Linked DNA regions of Homo sapiens: regions 1 and 3 are each linked to region 2. The links are contacts of gene promoters, found by promoter capture Hi-C in human tissues and cell types (Jung and others, 2019). All regions are on one chromosome and are shown on one strand. Each heading gives the region's core, a stretch centred on a gene start or on the middle of the fragment in contact. The rest is flanking DNA. Distances are from core to core; before and after follow the strand shown. Region 1 has its middle 33 kb from the start of OR8B12. Region 2 holds the start of OR8B4 (olfactory receptor family 8 subfamily B member 4). Region 3 holds the start of OR8B12 (olfactory receptor family 8 subfamily B member 12).

What was found. The method cuts DNA at HindIII sites, captures the fragments that hold promoters and counts their contacts. A contact is called where the count stands out against the background at its distance.
Region 1: a contact is called between a fragment that was not itself captured here and the fragment with the promoter of OR8B4 in region 2, in 2 of the 25 tissues and cell types used here (dorsolateral prefrontal cortex and mesendoderm cells).
Region 3: a contact is called between the fragment with the promoter of OR8B12 here and the fragment with the promoter of OR8B4 in region 2, in 3 of the 25 tissues and cell types used here (heart left ventricle, neural progenitor cells and ovary).

The regions. Positions count from the first base shown.
Region 1 is chr11:124,509,326-124,512,332 of GRCh38, reverse strand. No RefSeq gene overlaps it. Among named protein-coding and RNA genes, the nearest start is that of OR8B12, 33 kb to the left of the region's middle. RefSeq lists enhancers at 1,124-1,757, 1,758-2,392. The HindIII fragment of the contact is 4,409 bases long and covers 1-3,007 here.
Region 2 is chr11:124,423,457-124,426,510 of GRCh38, reverse strand. It overlaps OR8B4 (olfactory receptor family 8 subfamily B member 4), which reads left to right and starts at 1,640. Exons shown (of 1, transcript NM_001005196.1): 1 at 1,640-2,569. The coding sequence starts at 1,640. The coding sequence ends at 2,569. The HindIII fragment of the contact is 10,487 bases long and covers 1-3,054 here.
Region 3 is chr11:124,542,092-124,545,376 of GRCh38, reverse strand. OR8B12 (olfactory receptor family 8 subfamily B member 12) reads left to right here and starts at 1,723. Exons shown (of 1, transcript NM_001005195.1): 1 at 1,723-2,655. The coding sequence starts at 1,723. The coding sequence ends at 2,655. The HindIII fragment of the contact is 12,708 bases long and covers 1-3,285 here.

The sequences.
Region 1 (3,007 bases), core at 426-2,925, 86 kb before region 2:
TCTTAGGTGATGAAGAAAATTCATTTTTTAATAATATTTTTATGGCTTCATTCTTTTACATTGGGATGTCTCATCTATTTAGAAATTATACCAGTGTATCATGTGAGGAATAGATCCAACTTTGTCTTTTTTCTTATGGTTACCCAGTTATTTTATTGTCATTTATTAAATAGTCCCTCTTTTTTCTACTTTTGAGCTCCTGCCTTTATCTCATACTGAATTTCAAAGGCAGCTGGGCTATTTCTGTGTTTTTCCATTCTGTTCCATTGGTCTATGTATCTGTCTACCCATAAGCCAATATCACACTACTTTAACTGTAGAAGCTTCATTATGTTTTCATATCTTGAGGGTAACCTCCCACATATTGTTCCTCTTTTTTAGGGTTTTGCTGACTATTCATGTTTAACCATAATCTTTATAATTAATCTGTCTAGCTCCAGAAAAAAACCTGATGGCATATTTGCTGCACAGATGCATTTAAGATTGCATCTTAAATTTAGAAGTAAATTTAAGGAGAATCAAAATCTTTGGATCTTGAGGCTTCCAATCATAAACTGTGATATGCCTTTCCATGTCTTGGGGGTCTACTTTAGTATCTTTTAAGAGTGTTTCATAATTCCTTATCTATGTTTTGCATATTTCTTATTATAATTGTGCTTGGGAATTTTGTTTTATTTTGTCTTATCTTTCATTAGATATTATTATTACTTATACATATGCATTCGATGTATTACTCTGTTAATTATCTACTTTGTAATGTAACTGTTATTATTTGTAGAGATTTTTCTATAGATTCTCTCAGGCTTTCCAAATACATAATAAATTTTATCTGTATAGAGATAGCTGTAATTTTTTCCTCCTGACACTTATGCCTCTTATTTCTTTCCCATTTACACCTGCATTTTCTAATAACTTTAATACAGTGTTAAATAATTGCTTACAGTGAAGGCTGTAAGCATCCTGGTTTTGATGCTAGTGTTTCCAAAGTAAGTTGCTGGCTTTGGGCTGAAATTTATATATTTTGCCATCTTAAAGAGGTATCCATCATTCCTTGATTTAATGAATATTTTAAAAACATGAATGGAAACAAGAGGAGGGCAAGACGGCTGACTAGACGCAGCCAGGTGGAGCACCTTTTACTGAGGGACTGAAATGACTGGCGTGCTCCTAACAGATCTTCAGAGGGAAGGCACTGAGGGTGGATGGAGGGAAGACACAGAAGCTGGGGTGAAGGGGAAGAAAGCTGGGAATGTGCATGGAGCTGCCATGCACGAGGACTCATTCCTGGCCCCCAACAGCTCTAGGGGAATGAGTGAGTTGAACTGGCAAGGAACAACCTGCTCTCACCACGGGGCTCTGGAACCCCAGTAGGAGGAGACCCTTCGGCCACCACGGACATTCTAGTTGGCAAGGAGGGCTGCTTAAAGAAGTGGTTTGGGCAGCAAGCCTGATTATGAGCCCAGAGGGTTTGGTGTGGAAGTATCCGTAGCAGAGCATGGGCAGGGACAGCCATTCCCCTAGGCTCAACTTACTCCCATAGGAGACTTTAGCCCAAGAAGGACAGTCAGACCTCAACTCTGCAGGGCAGTCTTGCCCATCAGACAGGGCTGGTTTGACCTGAGCAACCCTTGGGCTGCTGGCCTCTCCTGGGTCCTCAGCCTGGCTGTGCCTGCCTGCAAGGCAGTCTCAGGTGCCATGGGGGCTGCATCATAGCTTCTGCACTGGCAGATTGTGCCTGACTGGTAGAGAGCTCCCAAAGGGCAGCCTCTATGGCCACACACCAGCCCACATGCTCCCTCTCTCCTCATATGGTAGCTTCCTTCAGGCCCATGGCAACCCCCAACCTTGCTTTGCTGGTGAGTGCCTGCGTGGGCAGGTTTTGCTTTCCTTGCCTTGCCGGTGTGCAGGAATGCAGTCTGCCCTGCCGTCCCCTGACTGCCATTGCAGACAGAGCCTTGGAAGCAAAGACCCAGCCAGCTCTATTCCCGCCAGTGCCCCACCATTGTGCTAACAGTGGATCCTCCCTTGCCCTAAGTGATCACTCCTGCTTGTGGGGCACAGAGGAAGCACCCAGACTTGTGCCTACAAGTGCCCCACCCCTGAACCAACACCACTTCCAGTGTGACAGTGCACACAGTTGCCAGCAAGGCCCGCCCCCCACGTCCCCCAGCTATGTTGCCTCTGCCACTGTGGTAAACACCTGCAGGGAGGCAGGCATCCCGGCACCCACTAGCACCCTGCTGCACCTGCCGTTACCTCTGCTGCTGGCATGTGTGAACAAGGACAGATCACACTGTCACTGCACTATGAAATGCTTTGGCTGACACCACCCATCAGAGTGTAGTGACCAGCAGTCCAGTAACACCTCATCCCCCACCAGTGCAGTGGATTACTAACCATAAGGAGCCAGAAAACAAAGTTGGGGCACAATACAAGTCCCCCAGAGTTAGAGCACACAGTCCAGGAGTTGGGAGCTGCATGTTGGCCCCCTAAAATCTTTCAGATACAAAACCAGTCAGCTGAATCCACCTTATACCACAATCAAACCCTCAAGGTCATCAAATACGATAAAAGGAAAAAAAAATCCATCCAAAGTCAGCAACATCAAAGACTGAAGGTAGATAAGCCCACAAAGATGAAAATGAATCAGTGCAAGAACCCTGACAACTCAAAAAGCCAGAATGCCTTCTTTCCTCCAAGCAACCACATCACCTATCCGGCAAGCGGTCTGAACTGGGCTGAGATGCTTGAAATGACAGAAATAGAATTCAGAATATGGATAGGAATGAAGGTCATTGTGCTACAGGAGTACATTGAAACCCAATCCAAGGAAGCTAAAAATCATGACAAAACAATGCAGGAGCTGACAGACAAAATAACCAGTATAGAAAAGCACATAACTGACCTGATAGAGCTGAAAAACACACTACAAGAATTTCATAATGCAATCAATCATAAGTATTAATAGCAGAATAGACCAAGTGGAGGAAAAAATCTCAGAGCTTGA
Region 2 (3,054 bases), core at 391-2,890:
ACAAATGCAGATGCTCCCATGTCTTTGAATTTTTCTTAAAATATTCATCTAGCAGATCATATGGAGAGCAGCTTTGTCATCTGAATAATGGCAGGATTAGACCCTTACATCCATCTCCCATTATACCTTAAGCCTGCATGCCTAGAGAGTAACTCTGTGTAGGGGTGTGTGTGTGTGTGTGTGTGTGTGTGTGTGTGTGTGTGTGTGCTTTCTAGCATATGTGTTGTGATATTTTAATCTCTTCATATATAGTAAAGGCCTGTCTGCGGCCCTTATTAGAGCTGCGAGTAGGTGGTGTTTGTGGTGGAGGTGGTGTGGTTTCTGTTCTGAGCAGCGCATGGTCCAAGAAGCCTTTTATCTGAGGTGCTCTCTGTAGATCTGATCTGACCTTTTCTGAGGGGTCCTACTCTCATAGCTCCCTGTGAAGATTTGGAGATGGTGGCTTAGGTTGGGGCTATTCACTCTTAAATTCAAGCTTAGGCTCTGAGAGTTAATGAGAAAGGAAAAAATGAGTCCCCAAACTCAGCACTGAATAACATGAAATCCCTGGAGTAGAGGGAAAGTTTGAGTGGAACCCCCACTCCCAAGATGCTAGGTAAGCACCGTTATCCAGGCTGTAAACAAAGACAGTGCAATTCCTTCCCTATAGAGACAGATCTTGGAGAAATTCCCAGGGGAAACTGTGTCTAATCAGGTCCCTGAGATCGTCAAGCAGCTTAAATTCCTCTGTGATATGACAGCTGGGGTTCTGGTCAAAATGAGAGTTCCTAGTTTTTTTTCCTGAAGTTGTCAAGACCACCTGGGAAAATCCACAAACAGAAACCATGGTCTATTCCTTGAGCACCTTGGAGCCTGGGGTCTGTAAAAGCTCTGATTCTCAGCACCAAGGGAGTCAAAAGAGGTAATACGCAAGGCTGTGTGCTTTCTGCACAAGCAGCACCATTTTCTCTTTCTGGCTAATGGAAAAAGAGATGGCGTAAGGCCCAGCACTGAGTGGGGCCCGGGAGAAGGAAGGTGAAGGTCCGAATCCTGTCTTTCCTGATGGTCTCTTTGAAACCCACAACCAAGGGCTCTGGGAAGTATGGATCCCGTCTCTGCTCTCAACACTGACCCTGAGGTGAGATGGAATGGAGGGTCTTCGAGGAGGCGGGTGGGATGTAAAGAGCCAGCAGGTAACACTCTTGGCTTTCTCTCCAGATGGAAATCCACTATCTAGTTGGGAGACGGAGGCAGAGAATGGGAGGGCATCCTGGTGACCTTGAGAGCTCTGGTCTCTCAGCTCTTGAGGCAGCGGCCCAGGTTGTACTCTTGGTTCTCAGGGTGTCTTTCTGAGAGTCCCTGGGCAGCCAATTCAGGTGTGTTGTCTCCCTCGTCATCTCTCAAGCAGAGACGGAATTCTTGCTGCCCATGGTAACAGATGCTAGCTTGAATTCATGATCGGCCCAGCAGAGCTGAGATCCTCTCACAGACACGTTGTTAATACCTCAGGGTGGGGAGGTGTGTAGATGAGGGAGGATGGAAGAGAGGGCATCTGCACACTGGCTGGTCCACTAGAGTCTTCTTCCCTTAGCCATGCTTGTGCCTGTCATGACTCTTTGTGTTTTGCCCTCTGCTTCCCCAGACAGCTCGCCAAGAGAGAATGACTCTGAGAAACAGCTCCTCAGTGACTGAGTTTATCCTTGTGGGATTATCAGAACAGCCAGAGCTCCAGCTCCCTCTTTTCCTTCTATTCTTAGGGATCTATGTGTTCACTGTGGTGGGCAACTTGGGCTTGATCACCTTAATTGGGATAAATCCTAGCCTTCACACCCCCATGTACTTTTTCCTCTTCAACTTGTCCTTTATAGATCTCTGTTATTCCTGTGTGTTTACCCCCAAAATGCTGAATGACTTTGTTTCAGAAAGTATCATCTCTTATGTGGGATGTATGACTCAGCTATTTTTCTTCTGTTTCTTTGTCAATTCTGAGTGCTATGTGTTGGTATCAATGGCCTATGATCGCTATGTGGCCATCTGCAACCCCCTGCTCTACATGGTCACCATGTCCCCAAGGGTCTGCTTTCTGCTGATGTTTGGTTCCTATGTGGTAGGGTTTGCTGGGGCCATGGCCCACACTGGAAGCATGCTGCGACTGACCTTCTGTGATTCCAACGTCATTGACCATTATCTGTGTGACGTTCTCCCCCTCTTGCAGCTCTCCTGCACCAGCACCCATGTCAGTGAGCTGGTATTTTTCATTGTTGTTGGAGTAATCACCATGCTATCCAGCATAAGCATCGTCATCTCTTACGCTTTGATACTCTCCAACATCCTCTGTATTCCTTCTGCAGAGGGCAGATCCAAAGCCTTTAGCACATGGGGCTCCCACATAATTGCTGTTGCTCTGTTTTTTGGGTCAGGGACATTCACCTACTTAACAACATCTTTTCCTGGCTCTATGAACCATGGCAGATTTGCCTCAGTCTTTTACACCAATGTGGTTCCCATGCTTAACCCTTCGATCTACAGTTTGAGGAATAAGGATGATAAACTTGCCCTGGGCAAAACCCTGAAGAGAGTGCTCTTCTAATGGGTCTCTTCATATCACTGGCAACCGATTCTCGGTAAGCATGATACTCAAGTGTCTTTCTATTTATAGGCGGAGGAATTTTAATATTTTTCCTCAAAGAGGGTCTCCTCTCCACTTTTAAAAATTGGAAATCTCTTTCCTATACTCTCCTTGAGGACTATATTATTTTGCAACAATTAAATTGGCTCACTGCCTGCAAGTTAGTGTCTATGAAATGCCTTTTGTTTACTGAACTCTGTATTAGGCCCAAGAGATGAGTAAGATGAGGCTCCATGCCTTCCATTCTTTTCTTGGTAGGCTAAATGGGTTTTTCTGAGCAAGAACGTTTCTGGCTGGAACAAGGGGCAGGTGGTGGTATAAAGGTTGAGGAGTGTTTTCTCTTTAGTTACATAAGCAGACTTATTAAAGATCAATGGTAGATACCTTGGTGCCAGTGCTAATATGATTATATATCCAGCTCTTCAGGAGGTTGCTTGGTCAGGAAG
Region 3 (3,285 bases), core at 474-2,973, 120 kb before region 2:
ATTCTTGTTACCATTAAACATACACTCCATGAGAGGACAGGGGAGGGGAACGAGAGAAGTATGTTCTTGTCTGAGCTGGGACTAGAGTAGTGCAATTAATTCCTGAGGTGAGTGGAATATGAATAAATTATTGAATAGCCTATTCTAAATTACAATAGCCCTTTGTGTTAACCTTTCCAGGCTCTAATTGCTTCCTTTTAAAACTTAAATTCATTGAATATTTACTTGTTATTTTCCAAGAGACTGTCAGATCCAAGAAGGCAAGGGCTCTGCTTTATGGATTTCAGTAGCTGTCCTTGGGAGGTAGTTTAGTCTAGCAGCTACATAAGGGGCTTGGAGTCAGACAGACCTAAGCATACCTGTGGACTCTGAAACATCTTGTCTCTGTGAGCAACTTACCTGTAAAATAGGTATTGTGAGAAATAAATAAAGATATGTTTGTATATGTGTACTCTGGATCTTGGCAGCTGGAATAAGGGTACTATGTCAGGTACTAAATTATTGGGTATTCAAGAAATGGTAATGACAATCATTTTTTTCACAATGATTTTCTCTTAATAGTACAGGATACATGTTAGTAGAAAGCCAAATCAAGCAATTCCAAGAGATAAACAAACATTTCTTCTTCTCTAGGGAAACTAATTGCTAAGCAAGTGGTCTTGAGGGAGTCTCTATCTTAATGGCCAGATCATTGAGGTCTGTAATCCAGAATAAAACTCTTTAGTCTTTTGTTATTCACTGGTCAGGAAAAAGCTTTGTCTCCTTCCTGGAAGCTGGAGAGGCCTTTGGGCAAATGAACAATTGGAAGTCATGTCCTTCAGTGCAGGAAGTGTTATGAGATACATTAGAGGTTCTGATCCTTTGACCTGTACTGGGAAGAGAGGGCTTTGAGCTCAGATCTGTCATCTTGTCTTCACTAGGGTCATCTTCCTCCCCAGAATGTGAAAAAGAGGCAGTAGAGTATAGCATTTATGGCTCTAAAGGGAAGGAAGGTGAGTGCCTGCCCCGATGCTGGTCACTTATGTAACATGGTGATTTCAAGTGCAAGCCATTTGAGCCATACTGCCGAAATTCACCTTCTGGCTGCAGGTGGTTTGGGGACTTTTGTCTAGTTATGTCATCTTACTTGTTTCATCTGTAAAATGAAGATAATAATATTGCTACATGGCTCTTCAAACAGAACCTCTTATAGTAACCACTCAATAAGTGTCAGCTTTAAAAAATTATTAAATGTACAGCCACTTGAGCTAAGAGATCTTGGAAAAGCATGAGCTCACCTACTTAATCTGACAGTGTGGACCCAGAGGTGGAAGCTCTGAGCAGAGCCACTGTGGCTTCTGCATCTCAGGATTCCCTTCAGGGAAGAGGTCCAGGTTTTACCAAGTGAAGCAGAGACAGGAGAGGGAAAGATATAGAAAAGGGACTGACCTAAGGATCTAAAAGACATTTGGATTATTTTTGGTACCCCTTTCTTCAGCAGATCCAGCTCTCATTCTGCAGTTACAGTTGAGTCTCATATTACACTTTGGGAGTTATAATCACTCGGACTGTGAAGATAGACCCACAGTGAGTGGTAAAAACCTTCCTACCAAAGTTCAAATCTCTCTCCTTGGATTCCTTTTCTAAGAATGGGAGATAGAGACTAAGAATGTGGTGGTGATGTTTCTTTCTAAGTGGTCCTCTTCTCTTGTCCCCTCCGACTCTCCTGCCTGACCAAAAAGAATGGCAGCCAAAAACTCTTCTGTGACAGAGTTTATCCTCGAAGGCTTAACCCACCAGCCGGGACTGCGGATCCCCCTCTTCTTCCTGTTTCTGGGTTTCTACACGGTCACCGTGGTGGGGAACCTGGGCTTGATAACCCTGATTGGGCTGAACTCTCACCTGCACACTCCCATGTACTTCTTCCTTTTTAACCTCTCTTTAATAGATTTCTGTTTCTCCACTACCATCACTCCCAAAATGCTGATGAGTTTTGTCTCAAGGAAGAACATCATTTCCTTCACAGGGTGTATGACTCAGCTCTTCTTCTTCTGCTTCTTTGTCGTCTCTGAGTCCTTCATCCTGTCAGCGATGGCGTATGACCGCTACGTGGCCATCTGTAACCCACTGTTGTACACAGTCACCATGTCTTGCCAGGTGTGTTTGCTCCTTTTGTTGGGTGCCTATGGGATGGGGTTTGCTGGGGCCATGGCCCACACAGGAAGCATAATGAACCTGACCTTCTGTGCTGACAACCTTGTCAATCATTTCATGTGTGACATCCTTCCTCTCCTTGAGCTCTCCTGCAACAGCTCTTACATGAATGAGCTGGTGGTCTTTATTGTGGTGGCTGTTGACGTTGGAATGCCCATTGTCACTGTCTTTATTTCTTATGCCCTCATCCTCTCCAGCATTCTACACAACAGTTCTACAGAAGGCAGGTCCAAAGCCTTTAGTACTTGCAGTTCCCACATAATTGTAGTTTCTCTTTTCTTTGGTTCTGGTGCTTTCATGTATCTCAAACCCCTTTCCATCCTGCCCCTCGAGCAAGGGAAAGTGTCCTCCCTGTTCTATACCATAATAGTCCCCGTGTTAAACCCATTAATCTATAGCTTGAGGAACAAGGATGTCAAAGTTGCCCTGAGGAGAACTTTGGGCAGAAAAATCTTTTCTTAAGAAAGGATTAGTATTGGAGGAAGGAGATACAATGCTTTGCTTATTAGTGTGTGTTTTCAGTGAGATTCAAGTTCCATTTTTTTCCTGTCTTGTACAGAAAAAGAATTTTAAATCTTTACATTTGGATGAGTGTTAAGTGCAGACATATTCTCCCTGTCTCTGCTTCACCTAGTTATTCCAGGATTTCTTCATTTTATGCAAATTTTTCTATAATCATAGACCATTTAATCGTGAATTGGCCTTACACATTATTTAATCTAGTCTCTTCAATTAACATGTGTTGGAGACTCAGAAATACATATGTTGCTCAAGGACACACAACTACTTGGTGCCACAACTGGGAATGGAATCCAGGTCCTTGAATTCCAGGCTGCTTTTTTTTTCTTTATGTCATTTTTTCATGCTTCATTGCTGCCCTTGCAGATATCCTTTTAAAAGTAAGAAAACTTAACACATTAAAACCTAATTCTATTCATAGTAATTTAATGTGACCTCTCAATAAATAATTTTTAAATATTTCATTTTTTTTCAAGAGGATAGAAGATGAAACATTTTCTTAAGTTGGTCTTCACCAAATGAGAAGAGAATTGTGTCAAGTTTGTAGAATGTGACTGACATTGAGTTAAGATT